Regions from separate parts of the Homo sapiens genome. Here all the other regions are linked to region 1. The links are contacts of gene promoters, found by promoter capture Hi-C in blood cells and fetal thymus (Javierre and others, 2016). All regions are on one chromosome and are shown on one strand. Each heading gives the region's core, a stretch centred on a gene start or on the middle of the fragment in contact. The rest is flanking DNA. Distances are from core to core; before and after follow the strand shown.

What was found. Contacts are between HindIII fragments. The CHiCAGO score rates a contact against its expected background, and 5 or more counts as called.
Region 2: a contact is called between a fragment that was not itself captured here and the fragment with the promoter of FBP1 in region 1, in 2 of 17 cell types (endothelial precursors and M0 macrophages). The highest score is 6.2, in endothelial precursors.
Region 3: a contact is called between a fragment that was not itself captured here and the fragment with the promoter of FBP1 in region 1, in 2 of 17 cell types (M2 macrophages and monocytes). The highest score is 6.7, in M2 macrophages.
Region 4: a fragment that was not itself captured here is called in contact with the fragment with the promoter of FBP1 in region 1 in 1 of 17 cell types (monocytes); the score reaches 7.5 in monocytes.

What each region holds. Positions count from the first base shown.
Region 1 is chr9:94,637,685-94,642,406 of GRCh38, reverse strand. FBP1 (fructose-bisphosphatase 1) reads left to right here and starts at 2,889. Exons shown (of 7, transcript NM_000507.4): 1 at 2,889-3,266. The coding sequence starts at 3,097. RefSeq lists a silencer at 2,756-2,815. The HindIII fragment of the contact is 3,451 bases long and covers 1,886-4,722 here.
Region 2 is chr9:95,146,956-95,151,677 of GRCh38, reverse strand. It overlaps FANCC (FA complementation group C), which reads left to right. Exons shown (of 15, transcript NM_000136.3): 7 at 1,591-1,755. It also overlaps a transcript of AOPEP not described here. Among named protein-coding and RNA genes, the nearest start is that of MIR3074, 63 kb to the right of the region's middle. The HindIII fragment of the contact is 2,111 bases long and covers 1,017-3,127 here.
Region 3 is chr9:95,119,566-95,124,287 of GRCh38, reverse strand. All of the region lies in intron 10 of FANCC (FA complementation group C), which reads left to right. It also overlaps a transcript of AOPEP not described here and the pseudogene RPS26P37. Among named protein-coding and RNA genes, the nearest start is that of MIR3074, 36 kb to the right of the region's middle. The HindIII fragment of the contact is 6,876 bases long and covers 1-4,722 here.
Region 4 is chr9:95,049,645-95,054,366 of GRCh38, reverse strand. All of the region lies in intron 13 of AOPEP (aminopeptidase O (putative)), which reads right to left. Among named protein-coding and RNA genes, the nearest start is that of MIR6081, 13 kb to the left of the region's middle. The HindIII fragment of the contact is 6,308 bases long and covers 1-4,722 here.

The DNA.
Region 1 (4,722 bases), core at 1,640-4,139:
ACCTCTTATCAGGGATGGTGTCCAATGAGGGTTGGCTGGACTAGATGACTTTTACGGTCCTAGCCAATCCAAGATCCTGAGGGACTGAGAGTCTGGCAAGTAAAGGGGCACACTCCCCTAGTTACTAGCTCTAGCTCTCCCCTAGTAACTAGTTACTATGCCAAAAATACTAGTCATCACATTTCAGTTCTTTTTTTTTTTTTTGAGATTGAATCTCGCTCTGTTGCCCAGGCTGGAGTGCAGCGGCAGGATCTTGACTCACTGCAACTTCTGTCTCCCGGGTTCAAGCGATTCTCCTGCCTCAGCCTCCTGAGTAGCTGGAATTACAGGTGCACACCACCATGCCCGGCTAATTTTTTATTTTAGTAGAGATGGGTTTCACCATGTTGGCCAGGCTGGTCTTGAACTCCTGACCTCAAGATCTGCCCGCCTCAGCCTCCAGTTTGTTTGTTTTTCTTTTTTTTTTTTTTTTTTGAGATGGAGTTTTGTTCTTGATGCCCAGGCTGGACTGCAATGGTGCCATCTCTGCTCACTGCAATCTCCGCCTCCCAGGTTCAAGCGATTCTCCTGCCTCAGCCTCCTGAGTAGCTGGAATTACAGGCATGCACCACCATGCCCAGCTAATTTTTGTACTTTTAGTAGAGACGGGGTTTCTCCATGTTGGTCAGGCTGGTCTCGAGCTCCCAACCTCAGGTGATCTGCCCGCCTCGGCCTCCCAAAGTGAAGTGCTGGGATTACAGGTGTGAGCCAGTGAGCCGGGCCTATTTGAGTTTTTATGTTTAAGGATGTATTTCTCTTACTATTTTTTTTAACACAGGGTTTTTCCTGAAAAGTTGCCTGAGGAACAAAGAGTTAAATAAGACCCTTAAAGGATCAACTCTCTTTGCCAGGCATCTAAGTCCCCTCTGGGGCTTTGAGGAGACAGTCGCTGTCTTTCCTGGTGGTACCACCACCTTCCTTCATTCAACGCCGCCGCATCTGACAACCCTGGGCACAGGAATCTGCACCCCAGGTCTCCACGGTGAATCCAGCAGTCAATTTTCAGAGCTTGTCCTGCCTGCCCCATCCACACCGCTTGGCACATGGGTCAGCCCGCCTTTACTTACCTTCTTCATCTGGCTTCCCGGATGTCACATCTCTTGGTTTTTGGTTGGTTTTTCCAGTTGGCTTTTCCAATTTATACCTGCAGCATGGATCTCTCCTCTGAACTCCAGATACATAAATCTGTCTATTTGACATTGCCTTGGATGTCTAGAAGGCATTTCAAACTTAGCAGGTCCCACACTTAGCTCCTAATTGTCAGTCCTGCCTCCAGCACACGCCCCTCTCGGTGTTCCCCATCGCAGTCGAGGACAACTGCATTCTTCTAGTTTCTCAGGCCTCAAACCTTAGAATCATCCGAGACTCCTGTCTCTCACATATCTCATCTGTCAACGAATCCCATCAGCTCTACCTTCAAAATATGTCCAGAATCCACCACCTCCACTGCTAACACCTGGCTCACTATCTCCTAGTAACCTGGAGGGCACTGTCTTCAGTCTGATCTTCACACAGTAGCCGCAGTATGAAGACACAGGGTAGACCATGCCTCTCTTCTTCTCCAAACTCTCCAGTGGGTTCCTCCTAGTCAAAGTCAAACCTCACTTGGCCCTCTAGACCTCACCTCTGCATCCTCCCGCTGGCCTTATCTCCTCCACCTCTGACCCTTGCTAGCTCTATTTCAGCTCCACCGGTCTCCTGGCCATTCCCTGAACCTGAAACATGGTCTCCTACCCCAGGGCCTGTGCACTGGCTCTCCCGGTGAGGAAACCGCTCTCCTTCCCATCTCCACCGGCGCGTTGCATCCTTCACCTCTTTGCTCACATATCCCTTTCTCAGAGAAGCTTTTACTGAGGCCTCTGCTCACCCTCTTCTCCCCTCCACATTCCGTGTCTTCCTTTTCTATTTCGTTTCTCTCTATGGTACTTATGGCTTATGTAACAAACTAATCTATTGTTTATATATTTATTTTTACTGTTTCTCTGTGAAAACGTACACTCGAAAAGGGCAGGAGTTTTGTCTGTTTGGATCAGGCTCCACCCCTGGAAGGTAGGACAGTGTTCAGCACAGCAGGTGCTCAATAGGTGTTGTTTCGTGAATCAGCACATCAATTGCAGCATTGTGGCTACCAGGGGGTCAGGATGCGGGCGGTGGAGCCCTCTGGCCTTTGTGTGGTAGCCGAGGACTCTGTGTCAGCGACCGTTTTCCGGGAAACTTCCGGGCGAGACTCACATCTTGGAAATTCAAATACTCAATAGCTCTCGAATTCTAGGAATCTTGAGAAGAGGCCTGGATTAAGGATTCAGACGTGGGCCCTCAGATGGGTGAGAAACGGGGACTCTGTGTCTCCTAGCGGGGACAGAAGGGCCAGGTGACAGGCCAGGCAGAGTGGACGGGGCTTGGGCAGGGGGCGGGGGCAGGCAGCCACACGGGGCAGGAGCTGCAGAGCTAAAGCCAGGCCATGTGGACTGGCTGCGGGTTTCGCTGCCTAGCTGGTGGCATTGAGCAAGTTACTTAACCTTTCTGAACTTCCGTTTTATGATTTTGGAGGAAACAGTCATAGCTTTCTCTCTGGCAGAGTCCGATGGCCCGAGTCCCGCTCCACAGTGCGGGTGGAGGGCACGGAGGGGTGTGTGTGGGGGGCGACAGCCCAGGAAGACTAGGGGGCGGCAGGGCGCGTGGGGGCGGGGGTTGGGAGACCGCAGGGAGGATCCCCGACCTTGTCTGAAGATCCAAGCAGGCGGAGCCGCGGTCTGGTCCGCGGGGTAGGCGGGGCGCAAGAGTGTTCCCGGGGGCGGGGGGCCGACCCGCGTCTAAAGGTTTCCGCGATTCACCCGCCGGCGCCTGGCCTGGCCCAGTTGCACCACGAGCGCTGCGGACACTCGGGGCGGCAGTCGGTCTGTCAGTCCTCCCGCCAGGTCCCGCGGCCCGCACCTGCCGCCCGCACCTGCAGCTCCGCACCTGCGGCCAGTGCCTACTGCCCTCTCTTGCCGCCCGCACCTGCAGCCCCGCACCTGCCGCTTGCACCTGCAGCCCCGCGCTCTACCCGGTTCAAGCATGGCTGACCAGGCGCCCTTCGACACGGACGTCAACACCCTGACCCGCTTCGTCATGGAGGAGGGCAGGAAGGCCCGCGGCACGGGCGAGTTGACCCAGCTGCTCAACTCGCTCTGCACAGCAGTCAAAGCCATCTCTTCGGCGGTGCGCAAGGCGGGCATCGCGCACCTGTGAGTCGGGCCTTGGGCGGTGGGCCCCGTCCTGTCTGTCTGCCTGGGGAGCCTGCCCGGCGGGCTGACGTTGGGCCCTCTGAGCCTCCTGCCGTCAGCCTCTGTCTGTCCGTCTGATGTCTGAGCGCCTCTCTCGCTCTCTGTCTGGTAGCCCCTCTCTCCAGAAGCTGGCTCAGCCTCACTCAAGTCCTCATCTCCTCCCTTGACCTTGGAGGGGCCCACCTGGGGGTCCGTCTCACAGGTGTACACCTGATTCCATCTTGCATTCCTCTTCTCTGCCCTGAGCAGCCTGCCTCGTACCCCTCTCAGCCGGCCAAGTGTGGGCACCTGGCCTGCCCGTCATACCCGCCCTAGCCTCAGACAGGAAAGTGCTAGCTCAGGTGCCTTCCTTCCCCATTTCTTCTTTGTCCTCCTTCACTCTTTCTGCAATTAGGGACCCAAGTCAGGTTTCTAATCCAGTTATCTCTGACCTGAAACAAGACCTGTTAGGAGCGAGTGTCCCCCCCGCCCCCCCCGCAAGCAGGCTGGGAGGTCTCCTGTGTGTCCAGAGCCTTTAGGAGCAGCAGGGCTTGTGTGCAAAGGAGCTCCCGTGGGCTGCCCCTTGCTGGGACAGTTGCCATGCTGTGCCAGAAACAGGAAACACCCAGGGCTTCAAAACCCCTATCGATTTGCAATGATGGTGTGTGCAGCCTCTGCCCAATTAGTGGAAAGCTCAAAAGTGGTTTGTAGAATGGTTCTGAATGCGCTATGGAGTGCATCTCGAACGTCACTGGGCACAGGAATCATTTGGGGATCTTGGTAAGATGTGTGCCCTCCTTCCATAGCTCTGGGACAGGTCCTGAGATTCTGCATTTCTAAGAAGTTCTCCTGTGGTGGGTGCTGCCCATCAGATACTGTTTGTCTACTCATCACATTGTGAGTAGCAAGGGGTCAAGTGGAGTGGAGACTCAAAGGACCCCTTCTTGTGAGGTTTTTTGTAAGTCACACAACATCCTTTCGTTTGTGTTGGTGTGCACAGGTATTTTCTTTTTCTTTTCTTTTTTTTTTTTTTTTTGAGATGGAATTTTGCTCTTGTTGCCCAGGCTGGAGTGCAATGGTGCGATCTTGGCTCACCGCAACCTCTGCCTCCCAGGTTCAAGCGATTCTCCTGCCTCAGTCTCCCGAGTAGCTGGGATTACAGGCATGTGCCACCATGCCCAGCTAATTTTGTAATTTTTTTTAGTAGAAACGGGGTTTCTCCATGTTGGTCAGGCTGGTCTCGAACTCCCGACCTCCGGTGATGCCTTGGCCTCCCAAAGTGCTGGGATTACAGGCATGAGCCGCCGTGCGCAGGTATTTTCTAGCTAACTGATCCACACTTTTAACTGAAGTGTAACTGGGTTTTCAGATTGTCCATACACTTTACTAACATTCCCCGCACTTATGCACACTATAAAAATGACACATGATGGGCTGG
Region 2 (4,722 bases), core at 823-3,322, 510 kb before region 1:
GGGTCTCCATGTGTGAGCCACCACCCCTGGCCTTGGAAGGCAATTCAGTATGCAAATACTCACACATGGGCACAGACAGGCATGGGCAAGGGTAGCACCACAGCCCTGTCTGAATAGTGAAAAACCAGAAACAGCCTCAGTGCCTACTGATAGTGGCATTGTTAAATTACAGAACATGTTTGTTTTAATAATAGGCAGCAAGTTTTTAAGAATGAGGAACAGCTACATGCTCTATACTGTGGTTTCATTTGTGTTTCACAAAACACAAGACTAAATTTCTATATTTACAATTACATATGAAAATACCTAGAATAGCCTCCACCCAGAACTTTCATTTTATTTATCATTCACTGGAGACGGATTTGTTGAGCACGTGCTGTGTGTGAGGAGTTATCCCTAGGTGCTAGGAATAGAGCGGTGGGCAAAGTAGGAGAAGCTGCCTGCCATTGTAGAGCTTCTGCCCTCAGAGGAGGAAGCGAACCATGAGTACTATAAGGGAATACTGTGTAGGTCAGGTGGTGAAAGGTACCAGGAAGAGAAGTAAAGCACGGGTAAGAGGGCACTTGAAGCTCGAGTGTCCAGTGGCGCTTTCTGCAGTCCCAGGCACATCCTGTAAATGTGCACTGTTCGGTACTGTAGCCGCCAGCCACCTATAGCTGTTGAGCACTTGAACTGTGACTAGTGCAGTTGAGGAGCTGGATTTTTAATTTTATTTCATTTTAATTCATTTGCATTTAAATTGCCACACATGGTAGACAGTATAGTGACATGGGATGATCAGAGAAGACCTCACTTAACAAAGGGACATTTGAGCTGCAACCAGGGAGCTAATCATGTATTTCAGGCAGAGTGAACAGCAGGACTTTATTTGGGGCAGTCAGAGGCAGAAAAGACAAAGGTAAGAGTGGAAGGAGATTAAGTCAGTGAAACAGATGGGGACCCACCATGGAAGGACTTGCTGGCTAGTGAAAGACATTGCTTATTCTCTACATGAGGTGAGAAGCCATTGCAAAGCTTTGAGCAGACAAGTGTTGTGATCGGAATTTTTAAAGGGGTGCTGGAACTGTTCTGATGTTAAACTATAGGAGTGAGTGCAGAAACAAGAAATCCAGAGGCTACTCTGTCACCCAGGCTAGAGGTGGTGGTGAGTTACTCTCCACTTAGGAGGACAGTGATGGAGGTGTTCAGAAGAGGTCAGATGTGTTGCTAGTATTCACTGATGGATCAGATGAGGGGCCTGAGAGAAAGGGAGGAATCAGGATTTGGGCCTGAGCAAACAAGATAGCACTGGGGAAAGGGAACACTGGGAAGGGAATTCAGGAGTTGTGTTTTGGACATATTAAGTGCCTGTGAATATAAAGAACAAAGTCCTGACCATGAATGACACTGAAACAGCAATGGTAGCTAAAAGATTTCTTCCTAAAGAATTGGATAAAAGAGAAGTGTTCATCGATGGTGTTAGAGTCATTCTCTTTATTTAGAGGCAAAACAGGTGATCTGTCTTTGACCTTTTTAGCATGAAGGTTTTTATATGTCCTTAATTATGCATGGCTCTTAGATTTGAGTGATTATTTCTTATTTCTTCCATAGAATGGCTCCCGAGCGAGTGGCGTCCCTGTCACGAGTTTGTGTCCCACTTATTACCCTGACAGATGTTGACCCCCTGGTGGAGGCTCTCCTCATCTGTCATGGACGTGAACCTCAGGAAATCCTCCAGCCAGAGTTCTTTGAGGCTGTAAACGAGGCCATTTTGCTGTAAGTGGCAAATGTTTCCTGTCATCCTGCGTCGTTTTTCCTTTTCTTAGAAGGCTGTGGTGTGTTGGAAAGACTGTACGACAGCAGTGTCCAAACGTTTTTGTCTCAGTACCCTTTATACTCTTAAAAATTACTGAGTATCCCGGCCAGGTGTGGTGGCTCACACCTGTAATCCCAGCACTTTGGGAGGCCAAGGCGGGTGGATCACCTGAGGTCAGGAGTTTGAGACCAGCCTGGCCAACATGGTGAAACCCTGTCTCTACTAAAAATGCAAAAATTAGTCAAGCATGGTGGTGTGTGCCTCTAATCCCAGCTACTAGGGGGGCTGAGTCAGGAGGATCGCTTCCACCTGGGAGGCGGAGATTGCAGTGAGCCGAGATTGTGCCACTGCACTCCAGCCTGGGCAACAGAGCGAGACTCCATCTCAAAAAAAAAAAAAATTACTGAGGATCCCAAAACATTTTATTTTTTTATTTTTAACTTTTATTTTAGGTTTGGGGGTACATGTGAAGGTTTGTTACATAGGTAAACACATGTCATAGGGTTTTGTTGTACATATTATTTCATCACCCAGGTATTAAGCTCAGTCCCCAGTAGTTACCTTTTCTGCTCCTCTCCCTCCTACCGTTGCTCAGGTAGGCCCCAGCGACTATTGTTTCCTTCTTTGTGTTCATACATTCCCAAGAGTTTTAAAAATCTGTTAAACCCTTATTAATATTTATCATATTTGAAACTAAATTTTTAAAAATGTGTTTGTTACTTAAAAAATAAAAATAATTTTATTACACGTTAACACAAATAGCTTATTTTTATGAAAAGCAATGCTCTTTTCCAAGGCAAAAAAAAAAATGTTTGACAAAAGCAGCATTGTTTTTACATTTTTGCAAGTCTCATTTTCTACCCTAAGACTGCTGAATTCTCATATCTGCTTCTGGTGGGACGTGTTGTTTTGGTTGAAGTGTATGAAGAAAATCCAGCCCCACATAGATAGTAATTGGGAAAGGCGGGAATATTCTAGTAGCCATTGCAGATCATTGTGGATAATTCTGCTTTGATAGCTCACCAAAATTTGAAAATGGTCATTTTTTAAAGGGTAGTTGCAATGTGGAATCTGAAATTATGTCAGTTAACTTTCCATACTCTGTTACATTAGAAACCCATTGGTCTGTCTTGCACTTTCAATGGATCTTTTTTGCCAACACACATAATTTTGTAGCATTATGCATGGTTCATTTGGAAAATCTTCATTCATTGAGTTATGTATATCTTCCAAACATTGACATATTTCATATGCAGTATCAAAACCTATAGTCATTACTGCCACCATGGAGCTCATCAGAAATGACTTTAAGTATTGGGAAGCTGTCAAGCTTATGTTGGTGGACATAGATTTTCCAAGATTCTAATTTCTGCTTAAAAGCTAAAATTTATCATGGGCTACAAACACTGTCAGTCATTTTCCTTAGGGGACTGAGTCACTTTGCTAATTATTGAGAAAGTATGTGCCTAATCCTAAAATGTGACTGACCACTGCCTGTCTGCTAGTCATTCTTTCAGGTCAATTTCCATGACAAAAAGTGGTCAAGTGAGCCCACTGCTGAAAGAGTTGTGCAGGTGTACAAGTGGAGTGCTTTTCTCCAGGCAACCGTCTTTTTTTGTTATGAAGCAGAAGTGCTTTATGCACACTTTCCTTTTCACCGTACAGAATTCTTTTTTAAAAGTATCCTTGAGGGCAACAGTTTAATAAAGTCAGTATGTTAAACTGCTTCATCAGACATTCATATGTGAAAATGCAGTGTTTCGACTGTGTGTGTGTGGTGGTGAAGAGTAGCGTGAGGGCTGTCTCGGCTCTGATTCCCACTGAGACACAGCTGTGTTACCCACTGTTGCTTTTGCGCTATCAGTGCAAATGTCAACACGGTTATTCCAGGAAAAACCAGGAGATTCAAAATAGTTATTCAGTACTTTAAGTATTTCCCTACCACTTGGGTGTGTGGCCAACTTTCATATAAAAGAGCTTCTGTGCTTAAGTTGGTGCTGATACCAGACAAGTACAAGCAATACAGTAAGTCCAGAGATTCTATTGTAAGGCAGAAGTACAGTTCTCTTGGTGACATATTAATTTATCACATCTGCATTTAAATTTTTTTTCTTCAGACTCTGAATGATTGGTCTCAAACTGATGTGGCAGTTAACTTGCACCATAACAGTATTCAAAATATTGTTGCATAAGACACAATAAGGTAAATCATTAACATCTGTAAAGGCAAGGGAAAAATAACTTTCCTCACATTTTTTGTCTTTATTTACAGTTTAGCCCACTTTCTCTGTAGCAGATGTCTCCATCTCATGAGTCAGAGAATTCTCTGATGTGTCAGTTTCATCTTTTCTTTTCTTTTCTTTTTTGAGACAGAGTTTCACTCTTGTTGCCCAGGCTGGAGTACAGTGGTGCAATCTCGGCTCACCGCAACCTCTGCCTTCCGGGTTCAAGTGATTCTCCTGCCTCAGCCTCCCGAGTAGCTGGGATTACAGGCATGCACCATCACGCCCAGCTAATTTTGTGTTTTTAGTAGAGACAGGGTTTTCCATGTTGGTCAGGCTGGTCTCGAAATCCCGACCTCAGGTGATCCACCCACCTCGGCCTCCCAAAGTGCTGGGATTACAGGCGTGAGCCACTGCGCCAGCCAGTTTCATCTTTTCTTGATGAAACATCTGTAGGATGAGAAATTGAATCTTTTAATCCTCATTTTTAAAGCCAGTGATCCATTCTTAAATGCAAGAAAATACATCATAAATAAATGTTACTTTTCAAATAGAATATTGTAAAATTCCAAAATAATAATCTAAAATATATATTAAAATATATAAGTAAAATATACACTGTATATATACATACAAATATATATCTAATAAAATTATCTAAAATAACTTAGATAAAATTTAAAAATTAGAAAAGTTTTCAAAATT
Region 3 (4,722 bases), core at 1,186-3,685, 480 kb before region 1:
TGCTGGTCCAGTGCATCTCATCTGTAGAGTATGTCACGGCCCCTGTGAAGCTCTCCGCAGTTTGACTTCCGAGAGGAGAACTACAATGCTTGGCTCCACCAGATCACACCCCCCGCCAACGTCAAATAGATCTCTCAGGTTTTAGCCGATATTTCTACTTTTTTTTTTTTTTTTTTTTTTTTTTGAGACAAGGTTTTACTCTGTCACCCAGGCTGGAGTGCAGTGATGTGATCTCAGTTTACTGCAGTCTCAACCCCCCAAGCTCAGGTGATCCTCACACTTCAGCCCCTGCGTGTAGCTGGGACCACAGGTGCATGTCACCACTCATGGCTACTTTTTGTATTTTTTAATTAAGTACAATTTCCATTTTATTTTTCTCAAGAGAATAGTCCGTCTTCAGACTTTAAGGACTCAACTCCTTACGTGGGCTTTGGTGGGGGTTGTGGGGCAGCATCCGCAGGTCTAAATTGGAGTAGGGGTGTTCAGTCCTTGTGGGCTTCACAAGATCGATTCCTGACTACTTTGCTGTGAATTGCACAACTCAGACAGTAATGTAGCTTCAAATACAGCTTGGGAAGCACATAGGCATCAAAGACGCTCGCTTCAGAAATGTCCCTGACTGCTGCAGCCTCCACTGTGTTTCCAATGATGAATTTGTTAATAGCCTTGTCCTTGGGCACACATTGGGCACAGTTCGTGTCGCAAATAGGCTGCACGTGGCCGCGGCCCTTTTTGGTACGACCGTTGTTCCTTCTTTTTTTCATCATATTGGAGGCACGGACTGGAGGAAGCACTAATTTTTGTATTTTTATTAGAGATGGGGTTTCACCATGTTGCCCGGGCTGGTCTCAACCTCTGAGGCTCAAGCAATCTTCCCACCTTGGCCTCCCAAAGTGCTGGGGTTACAGGTGTGAGCCACCACACCCAGCCTGTTTCTGCTTTTTAAAGCAACAATAAATATATTTTTATTTTATTTTATTTTTTGAGACAGGCTCTTACTCTGCCACCAAGGCTGGAGTGCAGTGGTATGATCATGGCTCACTGCAGCCTTTGGCTTCGTGGGCTCAAGCGATCCCCCCACCTCAGCCTCCCAAGTAGTTGGGACCACAGGTTCAAGCCACCACGCCCAGCTAATTTTTAAATTTTTTTTTGTAGAGATAGAGTCTCTCTGTTGCTCAGGCTGGTCTCAAACAGCTGGGTTCAAGGGATCCTCCCACCTTGCCCTCCCAAGGTGCTTGGATTCCAGGCTTGAGCCACTGTGCCTGGCCAACAGTAAATATTTGTGATTTATTTTTTCCCACCCTCACTTTCCCTGGAGAAGTTAGCTGGGCTGTAGCAAGCTGCGCTATCCATGGTCCCACCTAGAATTTTGGAGGTGGCTCGGCTGGAAGGCACAGCTGGCCCTCACGGTTATTTTGAGCCTAACTGTAAATGTCTCTGAGCCTCCCTTGTGCATTCTTTGTAGACCCCATTAGGAACGGGCCTCTGGGGAGTCTCACCTGTGGCCTCGCGGAGCACACCTGGGTTGGAGCAGAGGCCACGGAGGAGTGCCACTGTGCTCTTTAGGGTTAGCTCGCGCCTCTTTTTCTTCTTAGCTTCACCCTCAGCCTCTATGTTGGCCGTGGGCACTATGGATTGGGACTGATGTTGCAGTTGCTTTTAATTGAGACTAGTACCCTGACCAGGCATACGTATCTAAGGACGTGGGACCACACACTGGGTCCTGGTGTGAGGCAAGGCAGGGATCCAAAAACAAACAGGAATTCACCACCCTCGCCTTCAGCTCAACAAAGGAAAGGAAAGTCTCTTTGCTTTGCCAATGCCTGCATAGGTATCTGTTAGTTTATTTCTCTTCCTAGAGCTGGACCTGAGTGCCTGTCTTTTTAACTGATGGCCATCTACATCTTTTGACCCTCTGCCTTCTTGACTGTCCATTTTTAGCTAATCAAAACCCTTCATGTCATATTTGGTAGATGCGTGACCCTCTTTTCTCTCTGTGTTTTATTCATTAATTCCTTCTTAATAAAATGAGTATCTGTAAACCTGATATCTAATAATCTGAATATATGTCTATCCACGTGCTCCTCCCTGCCTCTCTCCCTCCAGGTAACCTCTGGTTTGAATTTTATGTGCCAGGCGTGGTGGCTCACACCTGTAATCCCAGCACTTTGGGAGGTCGAGGCAGGCAGATCACAAGGTCAGGAGATCGAGACCATCCTGGCTAACACGGTGAAACCCTGTCTCTACTAAAAATACAAAAAAATTCGCCGGGCATGGTGGTGGGCGCTTATAGTCCCAGCTACTCAGGAGGCTGAGGCAGGATAATGGCATGAACCCGGGAGGCGGAGCTTGCAGTGAGCTGAGATTGCGCCACTGCACTCCAGCCTGGGCGACAGAGCGAGACTCCATCTCAAAAAAAAAAAAAAAAATGAATTTTATGTTTATTATCCCTTTGCTCTTTCTGAAAGTAGTTTGATCACATATATATGACTGCCTAAACAATGTTTTGTTTAGTTTTGGTTGTTTTTGCACTATATAAAACAAACAGGAGCAGCATACTCTGTGCAATCTTTTGAGACTTGCTTTTCCACTCAGCAGAGACTTCTTGACGTTGCCATGTGTGGCTGTGGGGAAGTACTGTTATGCATAGTCCATTGTGAAAACGTATGGCAGTGTAGCCATCCTCCTGCTGGTAGGCACTTGAGATGCTTCCAGGTTTTGTTTTTTATTACAAACAATGTTGCTCTGGACACTCTGGGATAGATACTTAGGAGTGGAAGTGTATTTGGAATACAAAAGTTCAACTTTCATAGATCCTGCCAGACTCATTTCAAAAGTGTTGGTGCTCATCTGCACTTCCTGCAACAGTTTATGAGTGATCCCATAAATCCACATTCTCTCCTATCATCAGAAGCACTCATGTCAGTGCTTCTGTCTCTTCTTACCCTTTCCTCTTGTCCCTGTTCTGTTTGGAGGACACAGTCAGCTCCATCAATATGCCCTATCAGACAGTAGGCAGAAATTGAAATGGGTGTGACAAGCCACTTTTTCTAAGCCTGCACTGTGGCTCAGTACAGCCAGTCAGGTCAGTTTCTGGTTGCAGCCATGACAGCATCTGGTAATGAGCTAGATTAAATCATCTCCCACAGATAAAAATGATAAACTCCAGGCAAAGTATTTTTAAAAATCTATTTGAAGGCACTACAGAGCACCTGAAAAAGTGGACAGAAACTGGAGGCCATCAGCCCTTTAAAGGGACATCACACAGAGAGGTCTCCTGCCTCCCCCCAGCTGCCCTCATGTGAGGTTGGAAGGCAGGCAGTGTGGGGCCAGGAGAGGGCCAGAACTTGGCACAATCTGATTGACTTAAGGTGCCAAAAAATAGAAGTGTAAGCTGCCAAAGGAACAAAAAAATTGAGGGGAAAAAAGAAAACCAATGTCAAAAGATAGACCTAAACCCAAAACTACCAACAATGACATTAATTTCAGCAATTAAATGGAAGTTAAATATTCTAATAAAAAGGCAGAAACGTCAGATTGAACAAAAAAAATGAAGACCTGGCTGGGCACGGCGGCTCATGCCTGTAATCCCAGCACTTTAGGAGGCCAAGGTGGGAGGATTGCTTGAGTCCAGGAGTTGAGTTCAAGACCAGCCTGGGCAACATAGTGGGACCCCAGTCTCTACAAAAAAGTAAATAAATAAAAAATTAGCTGGGCATGGTGATGCATGCCTGTAGTCCCGGCTACTCGGGGGGTGAAGTGGGAGGATTGCTTGAGCCCAGAACGTGGAGGCTGCAGTGAGCCATGATCACACCACTGCACTCCAGCCTGGAAGACAGGGCGAGATGCTGTCTTAAAAAAAAAAAAAAAAGATTTTAAAAGCCATTGTAATCAAGACAGTGAGGTATTGGCAAAAAGACAGCCATAGATAGATCAGAATTGAGTCCAGATATAGACCCATACATATGTGGCCAACTGATTTTTGACAGAGATGCCAAGACAATTCAATGGGGAAAGGAACGTTTTCAACAAATGATGCTGGAATAACTGGATGTCCATATGTAGAAAAATGAACCTCAAACATTACCTTGTAAAGCACACAACAGTTAATTTGAGAGGATCATGGGCTTCAACAGAAATGTTAGAAAGATAAAGCCCCTAGAGAGAGCATAGGATAATGTATCTGTTTGACACTGAGGTGATCTAAGATTTCTCAGAAGCACTAACCATAGGAAAAAATGGATAAATTAGACCTCATCAGAATTTAAAACTTTTAGGCTGGGGGCATAGCTCACTCCTGTAATCCCAGCTCGTTGGGAGCCCCAAGGCAGGAGGATCTCTTGAGCCCAGGAGATGGAGACCAGCCTGGGCAACAAAGTAAGACCCCTTTTCTACAAAAAATACAAAATTTAGCTGAACGTGGTGGCACACACCTGTTGTCCTAGCTACTCGGGAGGCTGAGGTGGGAGGATCACTTGAGCCTGGGAGATCAAGGCTTCAGTGAGCTGTGATCATGCCACTGCACTCCAGCTTGGGCAACAGAGTGAAACCATATCTCAAAAAATAAGAAAGGAATGTAAAATTTCTATTCTTTGATAGATATCATTAAGAAACTGAAAAAGCAGGCCAGGCACGGTGGCTCATGCCTGTAATCCTAGCACTTTGCAAGGCTGAGGTGGGTGGATCACGAGTTCAAGAGATCAAGACCATCCTGGCCAACAT
Region 4 (4,722 bases), core at 726-3,225, 410 kb before region 1:
AAGCATCATAAACACTCAAATTGAAAATTTCCAAGTATTTCACAAGAGATGTGTGGGATCCTTGTGTCCACCTCCCCAACCCCAGATCCTGCCAGACCAATTACAAGGGGCCAAAGGGAAAACATTCCTGATCTATGCTTCTCAAGAAAATAATCACTCATGAAAAAGAAACTAAATTCCTAAGTGATTCTGTCTATTCACCCTGCCATGACAACAATGGCATGTTCAATATATGCCTGAATATTTCTAAAGAAATTGGAATACTTTAAAGTATCAGAATATTCCTAACTTTTCTTGTATTCACATTTTCATAAAAATTTCCTTCTTTTTGTTTCCTTAGAATTAATGCTTTTGCCACAAGTGGTAGCTCACACCTGTAATCCCAGCACTCTGGGAGGTCTAGACAGGAGAATGGCTTGAGCTCAGGAGTTTCAGACCAGCCTGAGCAACACAGTGAGACCTCGCTCCCTACCCACCCCCAAAATTAGGTGTGGTGATATGCATCTGTAGTCCCAGCTATTTGGGAGGCTGAAGTGGGAGGATCATCTGAGCCCTGGAGTTGGAGGCTGCGGTGAGCTATGATTAATCCAGTAGACTTCAGCCTGGGCAACAGAGCAAGACTCTGTATCCAACAACAACAACAACAACAACAACAACAAAAATGAATTAATGCTCTTACCTAAATTAATAACAGTGTACGTAATATACTTGTTGTATTTATCTTGAAGGAGAGTATACATTTTATAATTCTGAGTTCCTAATTTACAAACAGTGACATTTGCTAGCTCCAATTCTAGTTATACATTAACTTATAACCCCCTAAGGCCCAGCATATGAGTATACCTTTACTGTAAAAAAACGGTTGGTTGAGTATATGAATCAAAACATCCTATATGGTATGTAGCCATGCAATGGAATACTATGTAGCTATTAAAAAGAATGAGATGGAATTATTTTTGTAATATAGGAAGATGGCAAGAAATGTTTTTAGAAAAAAGGTTCAGAATAAAATGTAAACTATGGTTCAATTTGTGTAAATTACATTCTAAAGATACATAATAAGAAAATAAGGAATGCTTTGTGTCAACTGTTTCTCCGAGTAACCTACCTGAACTCTCTGGCTTCCCCTCTGTCCATTTTTCTGCTTCCAGCTGAAGCTGAAATATTTTTCTTAAATCATGCTACAAGTATTTCCTAATAATTCACTTAAAAGAGAGATCTACTTTATGAAGAAATTCATTACCACAACCAAACCTAAGAACACTGAAAATAATTAAAGCATGTGCTCTAACAAAGTACTGAACCAGGCAACTGGAAACCAGGGGTTTCTCTAAAGCTGGCCCGGTAGGTATGGGAAGACCTCCTAGCACTAAGTGTGCACCGAGAAACCTATCATTGTCTCTCTAGTCTTAGTCATAACATTTTAACATTGGTTCTGTGCAAGCAGCAATCAAGAACTGGAAGAATTTAAAATTTTCCAAATATTCTGTAAACAGATATATAGGAAGCACAGTGTCAAACAGTCACATGCTCAGGTTTTTAGGCTGTTACTTACAATACTAACAAATTATAAAATATATTCAGATTTTTTTTCCAAGGGAAAAAACCAGTAATTTCATCCAAACCCAGAATTTCTTCCTTTCTATAACTTCCTATATTACTCCAATATGTCAAAAATCACAATCAGATGGTCTGTGTAGGATTATTCATTACAAATTTAGTAATTTTAGTTAATAATTTATCAACACGATTCTTCTTTGGTTAAATGTTTTTTATACAGCCCTATATTCCTGGTGAATAGTAATCTATACTATGCACAAAATTACTGTGTTCATATGGACAAATAGGCAATCATCACTAACATTCAGTGTGATAATATGGTTTTTCCTCTAAATTAGAAGGGATTAGCAAATGGGGAAAAAACTCAGCTCTTACAGAAAATACCTATCTTCAGAATTTTATGTACAGAAAATAGGATCCTCTCCTTTTGAGTTTAAACAAGGAATAACCGAGTTCAAAGAAAACTATATTTTAACTTCTATAAAAGGAATATACATTTTTAAGGCTGTGTCTTAAATACTGGAACCAGATTTTGCTCATGTCATGTGCTATCTACCCCCATCCTTGATAGTCAAATGTTTATCACATTGAAATAAACGACTTAATGCCCAATATAGTAAGAAGAAATAATAAGGTAACAATGTCTGCAAGAATAGCTGTCAATTAACAATCTGGTGATTTAAAAGAATTTATTAAAAGCAAATTTATATAGCAACACATGAAAATTCAGACCAGGAGTGGTTCTCATTCCTCAACTAGAACATATCTAAAAAATACAAATTTATCAACTTAAAAAGTTTCATAGGCCAGGCACGGTGGCTCACGCCTGTAATCCCAGCACTTTGGGAGGCCGAGGTGGGCAGATCACGAGGTCAGGAGATCAAGACCATCCTGGCTAACACAGTGAAACCCTGTCTCTACTAAAAATACAAAAAATGAGCCGGGTGTGGTGGCAGGCGCCTGTAGTCCCAGCTACTTGGGAGGCAGAGGCAGGAGAATGGCGTGAACCTGGGAGGCAGAGCTTGCAGTGAGCCAAGATTGTGCCACTGCACTCCAGCCTGGGCAAAAGAGTGAGACTCCGTCTCAAAAAAAAAAAAAAAGTTTCATAAACATTCTTTACAGTACAGATCTGGTTAATTATTCTTCATATTTAAAAAGCTAATGGTAAAATGACTGAAAATGCCTCTTTAATTATAACAAACTGCAATCAATGAAATGATAGCTCTGCAATTTTTTAAAAAGCAAATAGATGGGCTGTATGAGGAGTTATAACAATCTAGTTTGCTTTATGTGCAAAAACTCAACTGTATGTCTTAGAAAGATCTCTCCCTTTGCCTTCCATAGTCTCCTTGTTAAAACTTACTATTAACGATTAAGGGTTTTTTAAAATCAAAACTCACAGTTAAAAAAAAAAAGTATGGCTGGGCACAGTGGCTCACTCCTGTAATCCCAACATTTTGGGAGGCCGAGGCAGATAGATCACAAGGTCAAGAGATCGAGACCATCCTGGCCAACATGGTGAAACGCCATCTCTACTAAAAATACAAAAATTAGCTGGGTGTGGTGGCGCGCACCTGTAGTCCCAGCTACTCGGGAGGCTGAGGCAGAAGAATCACTCGAACCTGGGAGGCGGAGGTTGCAGTGAGTCGAGATCACGCCATTGCACTTCAGCCTGGGCGACAGAGCGAGACTCCGTCTCAAAAAAAAAAAAAAAAAAGTAAGCCACAAAAACATTTTAGAGATAACAACATAATAGTTGCTAAGTGAGAAAAAGAATAGCAACAGAAGGACAGAGAAACCAAGTCAACCACTCCGATCCTCAGGTGAGGCAAGTGATTCAAGTATGGACACACACATACACTCTTAGCAAATTCTGAAGCAGGAAACATAATTTATAAATTATTTTCACTCTTGGGTATTTATTCTGGAGTCGGAAACACTAACATTCCATTACTCCCAGTTCCTGTCCTTTCTTGTGCATAGACACACAGTCAAGACAACATAAATATTTTTTTGGTCACATTTTATTTTCTAATATTCTTTATTTTCTACCAAATCCAAACTAAGCATAAATTTTAGCCACATGTCTACAATTTGTCAGGTGGTTTCTGCCACCAAGTTGACAAAGCAACCTGTCCATTTGTAAGGAGAGCCGACCACAACTAAGGAGCAGGGGGGAGGTGGTGAGGTGAGTCCAACTACATGAAGGATTGCTGGAAAAATAATGGAAGTTGTTTTCATTTAATAAAAATGTGTGGAGAGTACTGTACAATCTCCTATCCAAAGTTTCAGTTTTATTTCACAGAATGATTTAATGTCTACAAGGCATAGGAGTCACATTTCCTCCAAATTCTGCAGTTTTGGATTCTCGTCCACACAGTTTACACACTAGATTAACTGTGAAAAGTGTTATGAGGAATAGAGCAAAGGATTAATTCCTTAACAGCCTCTTGGACATGTAAGGAAATTCATGCTACTGAAAATAAAATGGATTTAATTTCAGGAGAACAAGGGCAGAAGTCTCAGATTTCAAGAAATGTTTAATTTTCCTACATTACATAGGACAGAAAAGGCTGCCTTGCCAATGTGTGAGAGGTGATGCGAACAACATCGAGTCTGTTTGCCCTTAAGTTACACATTTTGCACAAATAGCTGAATAATTCATTAATTTAGATACTGCCCATCACGACAGAAACTATTTCCAAGGAAACAAGTAGACTGAAATAGCGTTATAAAAATGTTCTTTTATGGCAAAACGTCACTTTACTGCTATGAGTTTAGACATAATCTTAGTTCTACTGTGAGTTCCAGCCTGGACCCAGAGCCTGGAGCAGCCTGAAGTTGATAGGGGAGCAGGGGATCTGAAATGCGACTTTGCTGCCAAAAAAGTATTCTCTTACATAATTTCAAGTACTTGATAGTCAATCAACGAGTCTTCAAAAATGCAAAATGGATACTCACAAGTGGTGGTTAACTATGGATCTAAAATCCTGGTAGGTCTTTTCATAGGCGTTGGCATGAACATGATTAAAACCTAAGATGTGCTTTCTAGCAATAATCTAAATTCTCAAATGTATGCAAGACTTCAGGAAATTTGTTTAGAAAAATTTCGCAAAAATGGTTAAGTTTTAGAATTTCTAGTATTTTTGTATCTTCCTTTAC